Regions from separate parts of the Homo sapiens genome. Here all the other regions are linked to region 1. The links are contacts of gene promoters, found by promoter capture Hi-C in blood cells and fetal thymus (Javierre and others, 2016). All regions are on one chromosome and are shown on one strand. The core of a region is centred on a gene start or on the middle of the fragment in contact, and the rest is flanking DNA. Distances in the headings are between cores, read along the strand shown.

The links. The method cuts DNA at HindIII sites, captures the fragments that hold promoters and counts their contacts. A CHiCAGO score of 5 or more calls a contact.
Region 2: a fragment that was not itself captured here is called in contact with the fragment with the promoter of TP53RK in region 1 in 1 of 17 cell types (naive CD8 T cells); the score reaches 5.3 in naive CD8 T cells.
Region 3: a fragment that was not itself captured here is called in contact with the fragment with the promoter of TP53RK in region 1 in 1 of 17 cell types (activated CD4 T cells); the score reaches 5.0 in activated CD4 T cells.
Region 4: a contact is called between the fragment with the promoter of NCOA5 here and the fragment with the promoter of TP53RK in region 1, in 2 of 17 cell types (total B cells and monocytes). The highest score is 9.3, in total B cells.
Region 5: a contact is called between a fragment that was not itself captured here and the fragment with the promoter of TP53RK in region 1, in 1 of 17 cell types (monocytes). The highest score is 5.7, in monocytes.

What each region holds. Positions count from the first base shown.
Region 1 is chr20:46,688,132-46,690,754 of GRCh38, reverse strand. It overlaps TP53RK (TP53 regulating kinase), which reads left to right and starts at 1,311. Exons shown (of 2, transcript NM_033550.4): 1 at 1,311-1,623. The coding sequence starts at 1,341. It overlaps TP53RK-DT (TP53RK divergent transcript), which reads right to left and starts at 1,456. Exons shown (of 1, transcript NR_186399.1): 1 at 466-1,456. RefSeq lists an enhancer at 863-1,452 and a silencer at 1,683-1,732. The HindIII fragment of the contact is 1,274 bases long and covers 558-1,831 here.
Region 2 is chr20:45,883,175-45,885,797 of GRCh38, reverse strand. It overlaps ZSWIM1 (zinc finger SWIM-type containing 1), which reads right to left. Exons shown (of 2, transcript NM_080603.5): 2 at 532-2,623. The coding sequence ends at 1,748. Among named protein-coding and RNA genes, the nearest start is that of SPATA25, 3.1 kb to the left of the region's middle. The HindIII fragment of the contact is 4,284 bases long and covers 1-2,623 here.
Region 3 is chr20:46,013,214-46,015,836 of GRCh38, reverse strand. It overlaps MMP9 (matrix metallopeptidase 9), which reads right to left. Exons shown (of 13, transcript NM_004994.3): 9 at 2,303-2,582; 10 at 2,041-2,180; 11 at 1,563-1,713; 12 at 1,363-1,466. SLC12A5-AS1 (SLC12A5 and MMP9 antisense RNA 1) reads left to right here. Exons shown (of 3, transcript NR_147699.1): 3 at 1,049-2,335. Among named protein-coding and RNA genes, the nearest start is that of MMP9, 5.6 kb to the right of the region's middle. RefSeq lists a silencer at 1,397-1,616. The HindIII fragment of the contact is 1,515 bases long and covers 544-2,058 here.
Region 4 is chr20:46,088,649-46,091,271 of GRCh38, reverse strand. It overlaps NCOA5 (nuclear receptor coactivator 5), which reads left to right and starts at 1,310. Exons shown (of 8, transcript NM_020967.3): 1 at 1,310-1,455. RefSeq lists enhancers at 1,147-1,196, 1,210-2,023, 1,877-2,086, 2,024-2,623 and a silencer at 1,357-1,706. The HindIII fragment of the contact is 2,710 bases long and covers 21-2,623 here.
Region 5 is chr20:46,110,932-46,113,554 of GRCh38, reverse strand. No RefSeq gene overlaps it. Among named protein-coding and RNA genes, the nearest start is that of CD40, 6.1 kb to the left of the region's middle. The HindIII fragment of the contact is 1,495 bases long and covers 564-2,058 here.

The DNA of each region.
Region 1 (2,623 bases), core at 62-2,561:
TTTAAGTGTCCTCACCCCCGAAATGATCAGTATGTTAGGTAACGTTAACTAGCTGGATTTAGCCATTCCACAATGTATACATATTTCAAAACATGTTACTTACGATAAACACGTACAATTTTTACTTTTCCTTATGTACGTCTTCATCTGGCTGTTCATTTTTATCTTTTATACTATCTTTTATAATAAACTGGCAATAGTAAGTAAAGTGTTTTCCTGAGAAACAACAAACTGGAAACAACTGTTTAGCAACAAGAAACTGCCTGACCAGGTAGAAGGACGTGGTAGCTCTGTATGTATTGATATGGAATATAGTCTGAGATAAATTGTTTAGGAAAATGAAAAGCAAGTTGCCAAAGAACCCACAGTATGATGTCATTTATGTTGGAAAAAACGCCACAACGATGTGTGAGTGTGCACACTGAATGAAAGAAAATTCTGGAAAGAAACTAACGGCCAGCAGTGTCACAAGGGGGATAGGTAGTTTATTTATTTATGTGTGCGTGTGCAAAGTTCCGTATTGTAAGAATTTGCTACAGCCTGTGTTATTATAAGCTTTGTAATGAAACAGGTAGAAACTGAAAAAGTTTAATTATTCCCAATTCAGTTTAGGTTCTGTCTCCGGAAGACTTTCCCGGATTCCCCAGCCCCCACTCCCCACCCCATCTTACCACCCCCTCTGCCAGCTCTGAGTCTCAATTTTCTTTTCTGTAAGGATTTTCATCATTTAACCTTATTTCTTCTGAATGCACTAAATGGTAGTTATCCTAGCACTTAAGAGGATGTCGGAAACATGGTTCATTGTCTGACCCTTCCGACTCTGACTTGTATGAGCACATTTTGGGGGGAATGTAGGAGTCAGGGGAAGAGGAGTTCCAAAAAGAGACTACTAGAGGGTACAGCTGTCCCGGAAGAGACTTCTGAAGAGAGCAAAGCGCGTCCGACGTTTTTCTCGAGAGGCGCCGAAGTTTTCCGGAAAGAGACGACCAACTGAGAGGTGGGCCCCCAAAGCCGGCTGCGAGAGTCACCGAAGATTTCCGGAGAGCCAAGGAGTCGGGAAGAGCCACTTACTGAGCGTTGCCGAACGTGTACGGAGATAGCCGAAGAGGCGGAAGGCGGGGCCACAAGAGCCCTTCCTGCAGGGAACCTCAGGCTTCAGAGAGCCGAAAAGTTGGGAGGCGTAACCACTTACAGGCCGGAAGTGTCCGGGGTGGACGCATTCGGGTAGCCGAAGAAGTCCCAGGATTGCCGAAGAAGTCCCAGGATTTCCGAAGCGAGCCGAAGCATCGCGACAGTTTTCAGAGACAGCTGATCGGTTGGAGCTGTTGCGCCGAGCAGTCATGGCGGCGGCCAGAGCTACTACGCCGGCCGATGGCGAGGAGCCCGCCCCGGAGGCTGAGGCTCTGGCCGCAGCCCGGGAGCGGAGCAGCCGCTTCTTGAGCGGCCTGGAGCTGGTGAAGCAGGGTGCCGAGGCGCGCGTGTTCCGTGGCCGCTTCCAGGGCCGCGCGGCGGTGATCAAGCACCGCTTCCCCAAGGGCTACCGGCACCCGGCGCTGGAGGCGCGGCTTGGCAGACGGCGGACGGTGCAGGAGGCCCGGGCGCTCCTCCGCTGTCGCCGCGCTGGTAAGGTGGGCCGGGATCCCGGCGTGGGCGGCCCCGAGGCTCTGGGGCCTGGGCGGGTGAGGGACTCCCCTGCGCTCCGAAGCTGGATTTCCCTCAGTTTCTCCTTCTGTGCCTTCTGCGGTGTCCGGCCTTTCGGAAATGTTATTCTTTCATCCCTTTTTTCATTCGTTAAGTCTTAAGAAACCACGTGGCCATGCAGCGTCAAGCTTTTGTCCTGAGGCCGTTCTGCCTGGTTCAAATCTGGGATCTGTCATTATTGCTCAATGTTGAACATGTTTAACTTCCCTGAGCCTTGGTTTCCCCATTTGACTCGTTTCAATTTTCGATCATTATCTTTCCATTTATTAGTTTTAAGAAACATGTAATGACAAGTACTTGCCCCACTGGAGCCAGGCTCCCTGGGTTGAAATACTAACTCTGCTGCTTGTGTAGCCTTTCAACAAGTTATTTAGCCTCTCAGCCTCGGTTTTCTCACCTGTAAAATGGGAGACATAGTAGCAGTATCCATGTCATAGGGATGTTGTGACCATTAGAGGAGGTATGTGTGTCACGTATTATGTTCAAATGTGTGCCTGGCACATAGTGCCCAATAAATGTTGGATTTCATTAAATTGCCTATTTTTTCATTAAACATCATTGTGCGCCAGCACCATAAACTTTGTCCTCAGATGAGAAAGTGACACTCAGAGAGAAGTAACTTGCCCAAGGTTACACGGTTACTAAGTGGCCGGTCCAGGCCCTCAGCTCCTTATGCCTCTGACTCAGAAGCCCTGGCTTTTTACTTTTACGCTTCTTGCCTTTCTTTTATCAGTATTTTTTAGGTACCAGTGGGTACCAGGACATTGTTAAGTGCTGGGAGATCTGGGTGGGGGATATTCAGTAGCCAACAAGCGGACACATTGCTGCCCTTTCAGAGACTTAAGATTTCATGAAGTTATTTGTGTATTCATATTTCTGTTTTCAGCCTCATGATCTGTTTCGTTAAGCAGAGATTGTATTA
Region 2 (2,623 bases), core at 39-2,538, 800 kb after region 1:
AGGTGCCTGCCACTACGCCCGGCTAATTTTTGTATTTTTAGTAGAGACACGGTTTCACCATGTTGGTCAGGCTGGTCTCAAACTCCCGACCTCAGGTGATCCGCCTGCCTCGGCCTCCCAAAGTGCTGGGATTACAGGTGTGAGCCACCATGCCTGGCCAGAATTTCTTATATTAAGTCCTAGGTATTTGAATTCTCCTCTTGCCTTAAATTTCCCAGCATGTTGAAGGCAGGTCATAGGACCATAGGCAAGGAAGGAAAATTAATACTTAATTGAGCACCCACTAGGTATGCCTGCTCTGTGAACATACCCTGTGGAGATCCCCATTTTTACAGATAATCAGGTTGAGGTTTAGAGGGGTAACTTATCCTAATAAGTCTCATAGCTAGTAAAAGGCAGAACCAGGCACAAAAATCAAGCAGGGAAGGAACCAACCAGGATTCACATGTTGTATAACACTCTAAAGTCTATTCTCTCCATGATATACCCTAAACTGCCTTCTATGGAACAAAAAAAAAACTAGACAAGTGCTAGAATATGCAACATTCAGTTTTATTGACCCCAGGATGGGACAAGGAAAAAAGTTCAGGGAGCCTGGCTGAGTCAGCTCCCCAGAGGGGCCTCTTCCCCTGTAGGAAGCCTCCCAGCCCAGCTCACTTAAAGGAGACGGGTTAAGTGAGTCATCTCATGACTGGGGCAACTGCTACCAAGCCCCAAACCTCAACCTCACCACCTGATGTTTTATCTCTTATCTTAGACCAGGGGTTGCCATTTATTTTATTTTTTTTAGATGGAGTCTCACCCTCCCAGGCTGGAGTGCAGTGGCAGCAGGATCTTGGCCTACTGCAACCTCTGCCTCCCAGGTTCAAGCGATTCTCCTGCCTCAGCCTCCCGAGTAGCTGGGATTACAGGGCCCCCGCCACCACACCTGGCTAATTTGTGTATTTTTAGTAGAGACAGGGTTTCACTATGTTGGCCAGGCTGGTCTTGAACTCCTGACCTCAAGTCATCTGTCCACCTCAGCCTCCCAAAATGCTGGGATTACAGGCGTGAGCCACCATGCCCAGCTGGATTGCCTGCTTTTTTAAAGACCTTTGAGCTAAGAAAGGTTTTTACCTTATGAAAATGTTAAAACAGGCCGGGTGCGATGGCTCACGCCTGTAATCCCAGCACTTTGGGAGGCCGAGGCGGGCAGATCACGAAGTCAGGAGATCGAGACCATCCTGGCTAACACGGTGAAACCCCGTCTCTACTAAAAATACAAAAAATTAGCCCGGCATTGTGGCGGGCGCCTGTAGTCCCAGATACTCGGGAGGCTGAGGCAGGAGAATGGTGTGAACCCAGGAGGTGGAGCTTGCAGTGAGCAGAGATTGCGCCACTGCACTCCAGCCTGGGTGACGGAGACAGACTCCTTCTCAAAAAAAAAAAAAAAAAAAAAAAGAAAAAAAATATTAAAACAAAACCAAGAATATACAACAGAGACTGTATGTGGCCACCTGAGTAAACTAAACAGATTAAGATTTGCTGACTCCTGTCTCATTGAGCTAGACACATGCTAGGTAGCAGGCCATGGTAGATGAGAAGACCCTTCAACCTTGTCCTTGTTGTCCTTGTTCTGGAAGGAGGGCCCACGGAAGTACAACAGTGTAAGGGAGTGTGTGTGTGTGTGTGTGTGTGTGTGTGTGTGTGTGTATGGGTGGATGTGAGTGTGCACAGGTGCATGAGCATCTCTGGGCATCGAGAATAATCAGAGTTGGACCTGCTCATAAGGCCCAATCCAGCTGTCGGCCAGTTCCCGCAGGGTGCTATACCTCCGCTCAAACTCCTCCTTGGTGCAGTGCTGCAACAGCTGACCCACCTCCTCGGTGAGGTGAGTCACTGCCAGGTGCTTATCCAGGGTCTCACTCCACTTGCTGCCCAGGATGCTGTCTAGACTGGTAGCACAGCCTGCCGTCCACTGAGCCGGCAGCATGTCGGGCTGGAGCACCTGGCGGCGGGCACTGAGCATGGCTAGGATGTGGCGGCAGGGCAGGTGGAAGGCCTGGTTAAAGTAGCAGCTGCAGCTGGCAGGGGGCTGGGGCTGCACCTTATGGGTATCTTCCAGGATCTGTATGTTCATCTTTTCTGAGCCAGAGCCAATGAGGTGTGTGGATTTCTGGACCACAGCAAGCTCGCCCAGGCACAGTTGGGCTGCTGGCCCTGTGCAGATGGCATTGAGGGAGTGCTGGATGTGGGATTCTACCAGCTGCTCCAGTTTGGGGCTTTCGGGGATGGTGTCTGAGGGAGCATGATTGTTCTGGGCACACAGGCCCTGGTTGAAGTTTGCCTTGTCTGCAGAGTTCTGCTGCATGTAACGGAACAGAGAAGCCATACCTTGTTTCTCAGATGGGGTGGTACCAAAGAACTGGCTGAGGATGTGGGTGGTGACCTCGAGGCTCTGGAAGTAGTGGCTGCTCTCAGCTCGGCTTCTCCAGCGGTGAGCCAGCCAGATGCGGTCGTTGAGCAGCCAGTGTGAGTGAAGCTCGGGCAGCTTGGCTGGAGGGATGCAGTTGCTCAGGAGTGTATACAACTTTCTCAGGTTGCCTGCTGTGGCTGAGCACATTGTGCTCTGCAGGGAGGTCAG
Region 3 (2,623 bases), core at 52-2,551, 670 kb after region 1:
TATCTTGGTGCTTACACTCTAGTGAGGCAAGAGACAATTAAGCAAACACATAAATAAATGAGATTGGTTTTGAAAATATAGAAAGCGGCTGGGTGCGGTGGCTCATGCCTGTAATCCCAGCACTTTGGGAGGCTGAGGCGGGTGGATCACGAGGTCAGGAGTTCAAGACCAGCCTGGCCAAGATGGTGAAACCCCGTCTCTACTAAAAAATACAAAAAATTAGCCAAGCGTGGTGGCAGGCACCTGTAATCCCAGCTACTTGGGAGGCTGAGGCAGGAGAATCGCTTGAACCCGGGAGGCGGAGGTTGCAGTGAGCTGAGATCGTGCCACTGCACTCCAGCCTGGGCGACAGAGCAAGACTCCATCTCAAAAAAAAAAAAAAAGAAAAAAGAAAAAAAAAGAAAATATAGAAAGCTATGGAGAAAATAAAAACAAGTAAATAGATAATAAGCATCAAAGAAGGCCTCATTGAAGCAATGGCCTTAGCACTGAAACCTGAAGGAAGACAGTGGGATGGCCCAGTGACAATCTGGAGGGGAAGCTTTCCAGACAGAGGGAACAACTGGCACAAAGGCTGTAAGCTAGGAATGACCTTGATCTGTTCAAAGAGCAGCCAGTGTGGGTGGAGCAGAGTAAATAACAGGAGGAGTGGGAAGAGATGAGAACACGGGGGTGGAGTGTCAGATCCTCTTAATTTCTTTGACCTTGGAATTCATCTGGGGTCACTCCCAAGACCATTGCCCTTCACTCCTACCCCCTCTCTAATCTCATGGAATTTGTTAAAGGTCCTGGACAGCCAGTATGGTTTGGGCTGGGGTGTTTATAAAGAAGATGGCAAAAAAAATGACAGACTCGAAAAAGATTTTGGTGGCAGGAAATCTTGTTCACCTTGTCAACTGTTTGGATGTGACTGGTAAGAAAGGGAAGTCAAGTGTAATTCCAGCTATAGTCCCCATATTACAGATGGGGAAACTGAGGCTCGAAGAGTAGAGAAGCAGTGACTTGCCCAAAGTCACAGAGCTGTGAATTGTCTTATCTCTCCCTGTAGCACAGTGCCTGGCACATTATCGGCACTTGATGACTGTTGTCTAATAACTGAGCTTCCATACAAACCACCTGCCGTCCTGTACTGAAGGAGAAAGAGCTTCCAGCCGGGGAGGCAGGAAATCTGGGTCCTGGTCTTGGTTGCATCCCTGACTTCCTAAATGACCTGGAGAAGGCCTCTGCCTCTGCTGGGATCTTGTCTGTGCTGGGGCATTTGTTTCCATTTCCAAGGGCTTTTTCTTCCTCGCTCAGAATTTGACCACTCACTAAGAGGAGCTTAGTGTGGTGTCTCACGAAGGGATCCTCCTCAGCCCTCACCTCGGTACTGGAAGACGTCGTGCGTGTCCAAAGGCACCCCGGGGAACATCCGGTCCACCTCGCTGGCGCTCCGGGGATCCACCATCTGCGCCTTCACGTCGAACCTGCGGGCAGGCGCGGAGGAGACAGGTGCTGAGCCGGCTAGCGGACGGACCGACGGCGCCCGGGCTCCCCCTGCCGGCGGCCGCGGCGGCGCTCACCTCCAGAGGCGCCGCCCGCTGAACAGCAGCATCTTCCCCCTGCCACTCCGGAGGGCCCCGGTCACCTGGGCCACGTCGGCTCCCAGGCCCAGCTTGTCCAGACGCCTCGGGCCCAGCACCGACGCGCCTGTGTACACCCACACCTGGCGCCCTGCAGGGGAGGAGGGTCACGTCGGTTTGGGGGCGCAGAGGGAGCACGTACTCCTAGAACGCGAGGAGGGAGATTCCGGCGAGGCCTTTCCTAGCCCGCGTGCCCGCAGTCCCTGCAACCCAGGGGCAGAGGCGCTGGGTAGAGCGACGCGAGGGCGTGGAGAGGAGGGGGCAGAAACTCAGCCGCCCCTACGTTTGCTAAACTGCGTCCGCCAGGGGGCGTATTTTTCTAAAACGCACAAGACGTTTCGTGGGTTATCGATGGTCTCTTGAGCCTCCTTGACTGATGGGGATTGACCGGGCGGGGGAGGGAAAGTAGGTAACTAACCAGAGAAGAAGAAAAGCTTCTTGGAGAGCCGCTCCTCAAAGACCGAGTCCAGCTTGCGGGGCAGCGCGGGCCACTTGTCGGCGATAAGGAAGGGGCCCTGCGGCCGGCTCCCCCTGCCCTCAGAGAATCGCCAGTACTTCCTGAGAAAGCGAGGAGGGAAAGGACGGGCTCTAAGCCTTGGACACAGGGCCAGTGGGCGGGAAGGGACGGGCAGCCCCTCCGCAAAGCCCCCTCCCGCATCCACACAACCCCGCCTCCTCACCCATCCTTGAACAAATACAGCTGGTTCCCAATCTCCGCGATGGCGTCGAAGATGTTCACGTTGCAGGCATCGTCCACCGGACTCAAAGGCACAGTAGTGGCCGTAGAAGGGCCAGCAGTGGGGGGACCTGTGGGGCCAGCTGAGGGGGGACCTGTGGGGCCAGCTGTGGGGCGCTCTGAGGGGTGGACAGTGGGGGGTCCGGTGGGGCAGACCGTCGGGGGAGCCGTGGGCTGCGGTGTGGTGGTGGTTGGAGGCCGTGGCTCAGGTTCAGGGCGAGGACCTAAAAAGAGACACGGGGTGAGACTCTTCCTATTCCTGCAT
Region 4 (2,623 bases), core at 61-2,560, 600 kb after region 1:
CCAACATTTTTCCCTAAGCTTGGTTATCTTAATCATCTAATTAATATGATTCTTCTTAAATTTTCATAGTATTAGGATCTATATTGGAGGGAAAGGAATAAGAATGAACATTTGTTGGGTATCCATTATTTGACAGACTTTATGTCTTCATTTCTAATTTCATACAGTCTTATAAAGTGGGAATTGGAATAACCCACTTTGCCTGTGAGTAAACTAAAGTTCTAGTTACAACCATTGAGAATCCCTATTTCTTTCCATCACAGCGTTTATCTCAGTTTGCAATTACACACTCAAGTGTGATTATTCGTCTAATGCTTTCACCAGACTGTAATCTCAAAGATAGCAGAAAAGGGTCTGCATTTGCTCATAACAGCGCCTAACAAGCAGGCATATAATAAGTATAGGGCTACATAGTAGGTATGTAATAAACATTCAGTGAATAAATGAGTGGAGTGAGCATAGGGGTAGATGTCAAAGAAATCTGGCTTCTTGTAGTGTTTAAATTCCGCAGGCACCATTTTTTCTTAGTAGGCAATATTCGCAAGGAGAAGAACTAGACCCCATGGAGTCTGAGGCGTTTCCAACACTAATAAAAGAGTACCTGATTAATATAGCTATGGCTGTGATTAATAGAGTGCATTTACTATTGTGTGAGCAAATCCCATTCCCTGTGACAAATGTATTCTATACATGAAATGAACAGTACAACATTTTACAGGCTTCACGGTCAACAGTTACATTCCGGGAAATTTTTGACGTTGAACGAATATTCCAAGAATAAATAACTCAAGAAGAACCTGTGACTATATCTCCAGAAACCTTTTGCCGCTTGTCAGTGAAACTAATAGAGTACAGAGCCTATTTAAATGTAAATTTAAATACAACATTTTCTCCACCTTTCTGCTCTCTTTGTTCCTTGTGGTCCGGAGGTTACAGGACTATATATATTCTCCAATACACACGTGTATAGGGATTTGGGGTTTTTGCTTTCAGTTTTATGCAAGACTAAATCAAGGTATTTGGGGATTTGAATGTTCTGTTCCCACAGTTAGGGAGGAGGGAATGTGCTCTGAAAACAGAAAAAAAGTACTCTGGGGCGGGGGCTGAGGCGACCACCGTGGGGCCCATCCTCAGCCTAGGACGCTGTTGCTAGGCAACTCCCTGCGTTCTCAACTCCCGCCCGAGAGCCACTTCCCGGGCCCTCATTGCCAAGGAGATCGACGCCCCAACTCAGCCCTGCCGTAAACACGCGCGGTCTTGCGACAGTGCCGCGCCTGCCGCTACGTGCGCGCCCTCTGCCCCCATCTCCACTCTCCGCCCGGCCGCCATTGCCTCGTGCCCGCGCCGGTCGGTTGGTGGCGCCTTTGTCCTACGGCGGGCAGGTGGGCCGACGCGGAGGCGGCAGCGGCGGGCCTGAGGCGAAGGAGCGGCCGGGAGCCCGCCGCGCTGGTAGCGGTGAGTGCCGGGAAGCGCTGGCCGTCAGCCGAGGCGTGGGGCTGACGGGCAGGCCGTTGTGGGGGGCCTGGCCGGACGGGGAGGCTGAGGCGGGAAGGCCCACTCGACGCGCGGCCACGGTCTCGGCTCCTCTCCGGGTGCGCGCGGTGCTGCGCATGCCCGGTGCGGGGCGCGGCCGCCTCCGGCTCCCGTCAGGCCCAGGCCCGGCCGGCCGAGGCGGCCTACGGTTCTCTGTGGTGGACGCAGGTCGGCGGCGTCGCATCGCAGCCGCCTGTCTGTGCACGAACGGTCGGTCACTAGGAGTCCTCAAGGCTTCTCTGGTTGAGCCGCACATCCCGCACCCCCTGTCGAAACGGTGGAGTCGCTCGCCCGCGGGTCCTCAGCGAGTCAGTGGCGCAGTCGGGATTCGAACCGGGCCCAAGGCGTCCCGTGGCACCGGGCGTTCTCCAGGCGTGCAGCGCCGAGCGGTGTACTGAGCGCTGTCCCCCGCCACCGTCTCGCGGCCCCTGACCGCATTCTCGGGGTGTCTCCTTGTGGTGTGACACCCCACGCGTTTTGTAGGCGCGGACCTCGGGCCCAGAGAACGGGGAGAGGAACTGTTCCCGGGTTTACCACGTAGCTCAGCGCCAGCGTCCGATCCGGCCGGCTTTCCAAGCTCCCGGCGCGGGGCACTGTCCGCTCCCCGCCAGCGGGCGAGGGGCTTCTCTTAGGACGGCGTTGCACACGTTTCAGTCTCGCGTTGCACCTTTATGTCCGTGGACCATCTGTACTGCTATTTACCAAATGTTACATTTTTTAAAAAATTCAAACTGACTCTTTTTTTCTCCTTAAATATATTTAAGGCGGCAACTTCAATCACAAACCGGGTACTGGAAAGCCAGTTATTTTTCTAATGCTTATAAAAAAAATAAATATCTGTCTGTTGAAATAAACAGTGCGTCCTTGTTCCTCCTGAAATTATTCTGCGTTCCACACTTTGGGAAACGCTGCCCGAGGAGTAGCTGATTAATTGTGGTTCTTCTGGCTTGCACTCTGTGCACAGAATTTTTCCTGAGGCAAAGCAGATTCTATGAATGCCCTGGGCTCTTCAGGGATAATGTAACAGCTTTCTTGTAAACTGTTCTCTTTGTTGACTTAAAAGTGTTAGTCCCAGGGAACTGCAAGAACT
Region 5 (2,623 bases), core at 62-2,561, 580 kb after region 1:
ACTACCCCACCCTTAACGGGGAGGGAGGAAATGGCCTTCTCCTATGAACACCTGACTACTCAGTAAAACCAAGGACCTCCTTCCTCCCCAAGATTGCTGTATGGGCAAGGAAGAGGAAATTGGAATTTTGGGCTGTGGGTGTAAAGCGAGTTCTGCCTCCTTTAGTAAACCTGGAGGGAAACTATCTGGCTCCCTAAAATACAGGGTACAGAGGACCTGTTGGCTTTGGCTGTGGGCCAGCCATGTGGCTGATTCCTAAGGAACAAGGAATTTGCACTCAATCGCCTTTGGATCAGGCCATCCCTCACTTCTAACTTGAATTGTGGAGAGGAGGAACAGTGCCTCCTTTATCTTCTTAACCTAACACCCACACAGAGTCTGAACACCTGCCAGATGCTGAACAGGTATTTGTTGAATAAACGCAGAACTATAGAGTAATGAGGCTGAAGGGATCCCTCAGACCCACCTGCCCATTCCCACACCGTCCTGGGTAGCAGCCCATCTCCATAAGATGACAGGGCTCTCTAGCTGGGATTCCCAGGCCTAACTATGGACAAAAAGCTTTCCCTTTAGCTCACCAGTATCACGTGGGAATTTATCAAAGGGAACTAAGAAACTCAGAAAAGAACCCAAGCAGAAATTTGGAAAACCCAAGAGCCGGCAAAACAGATGCGAGAACAAAGCAGAGAATGTCTTGATCCTTATCTGGTTAAAGCCACTTACTCGGCTGATCTGATCCCCGCACAATGAGGCCTGGAGCCTGGTCCTCAGCCCTCCCAGACTCTGATGTTTGGAAGAAGAGATGCTTTGGTTGCAGGGGAAAGGATCCAAGTTTTTACTGTGACCTCAAGAGGCTGCGTGACCTGGCCATTGGCAACCTTGGTTCCCACCGCAGAGCTTTGGCTATGCTGCCCCCTCTGTCTAAAACGCCCCTCCTCCCACCTTTCATCTGCTGACTCTTCCTCACCATTCATGTCTCAGGGTAAGTGGCCCCTCCTCAGAGAGGCCTTCCCTGACCATCTTATCTAAAATGAGTTTCCTCTGCTACCCACCCACCTCCCCCGCCACTGTCCTCTCTTGTAGCACCTGTTCTAATCAGAGTTGTCCTTGCAAACAAGAGAAGATGTAGCAGTGAACTTAAATAAAAGAGGACACTATTGAAAGGGTGTTGGGCAGCCCAGAGAGCCGACAGGAAGGCTCAAGGGAGGCACCCAGGCAAAACCACAGGAGGCAGGGAATAGATGAGACTCTGCCACAGAAAAGTTCTATAAACCATCTCTGTGCCAGCCTACCTCCAAGACAGCCCTCAACAATCCCTACCTCCTGGTCTTCACACCCTTATGTAGTCCCCTTCCTTATTGTACCAGGGTTGGTCTGTGTGACCAACAGAAACCAGCAGAAGTGAGTGTAGGTCACATCAAGGTTAGGTTACAAACCCACTGAGGTCAGGTGCAGTGGCTCATGCCTGTAATTCCAACACTTTGGGAGGTCAAGAAAGGAAGGATCACTTAAAGCAAGGAGTTCTAGACCAGCTGAGCAACACAGCAATAATTCATCTCTACAAAAAAATTAAATAAAAATAAAAGGACTGAGGCTTCCATCTTATGTGTGCACTGTCTCACTCTTCTTTTTCTCTCTTCTCTCTCTTCTTTCTCTCTCCCTTCTCTGTCTCCTCTCTCTCTTCTCTCTCTCTTCTCTTTTCTCTTCTCTCTCTCCTTTCTCTGTCTTCTTTCTCTCTCTTCTCTCTCCTTTCTCTCTCTCCTTTCTCTTCTCTCTTTTCTTTCTCTCTTCTTTCTCTCTCTCCTTTCTCTCTTCTCTCTCTCCTTCTTCTTTCTCTCTCCTTTCTCTCTCTCTTCTCTTTCTCTCTCTTCTTTCTCTCTCCTTCTCTTCTCTCTCTCCTTTCTCTCTCTTCTCTCCTCTCTCTCTCTCTCTCTCCCCTCTCCCCCACCCCCTGCACTGTCTCCAGGCCCTCTGGGGAAGCAGCTGTCTGCCATGTCGTGAGGACACTCAGCACTCAGGCAGCCTATGGAGAAGTCCATATGGCAAGGATTCAAAGCTTCCAGCCCTCAGCCACATAGGAAGTGAAAGTGGAAGTGGAAGTGGAAGTGGACCCTCCCGCAGCAGTCAAGCCTCATATGACTTCAGCCCCAGCTGACACATTGATCCCAGTGGTGATCTAATCAGAACCACCCAGCTAAGTTGCTTCTGGATTCCTAACCCACAGAAACTGTGAGATAATAGATGTTTTCTTGTTTCAAGCCACTAAGTTTCAGGTCAACCTCTTACCCAGCAATAGATAATGAACACAATCTCTAACTACCCCTGAACTTGAGCATCACTCCTTCGAGGTTCAAAGTCTTGGGAAAGGAATCAGAGTGGCCACACTTGGCTTACAACGCACATTCTATGCCTCCTTGGCTTCCTTGTCAAGCCTCCTGCCCTCCTTCCCCTCAAGTAAGAAGGGTACACATCCTGAACATCCAGAACAATCCATCTGCCCTGCAATGTTCCCTCAGAACACTCGGCACAACTTGTTGTTCTCTATGCAGGATGACATTTTTCTCCTTTCCCCTTGCTCTTCCTAATTTTGGGCACACACCAAACGTAAGAACCAGAGAGGGCA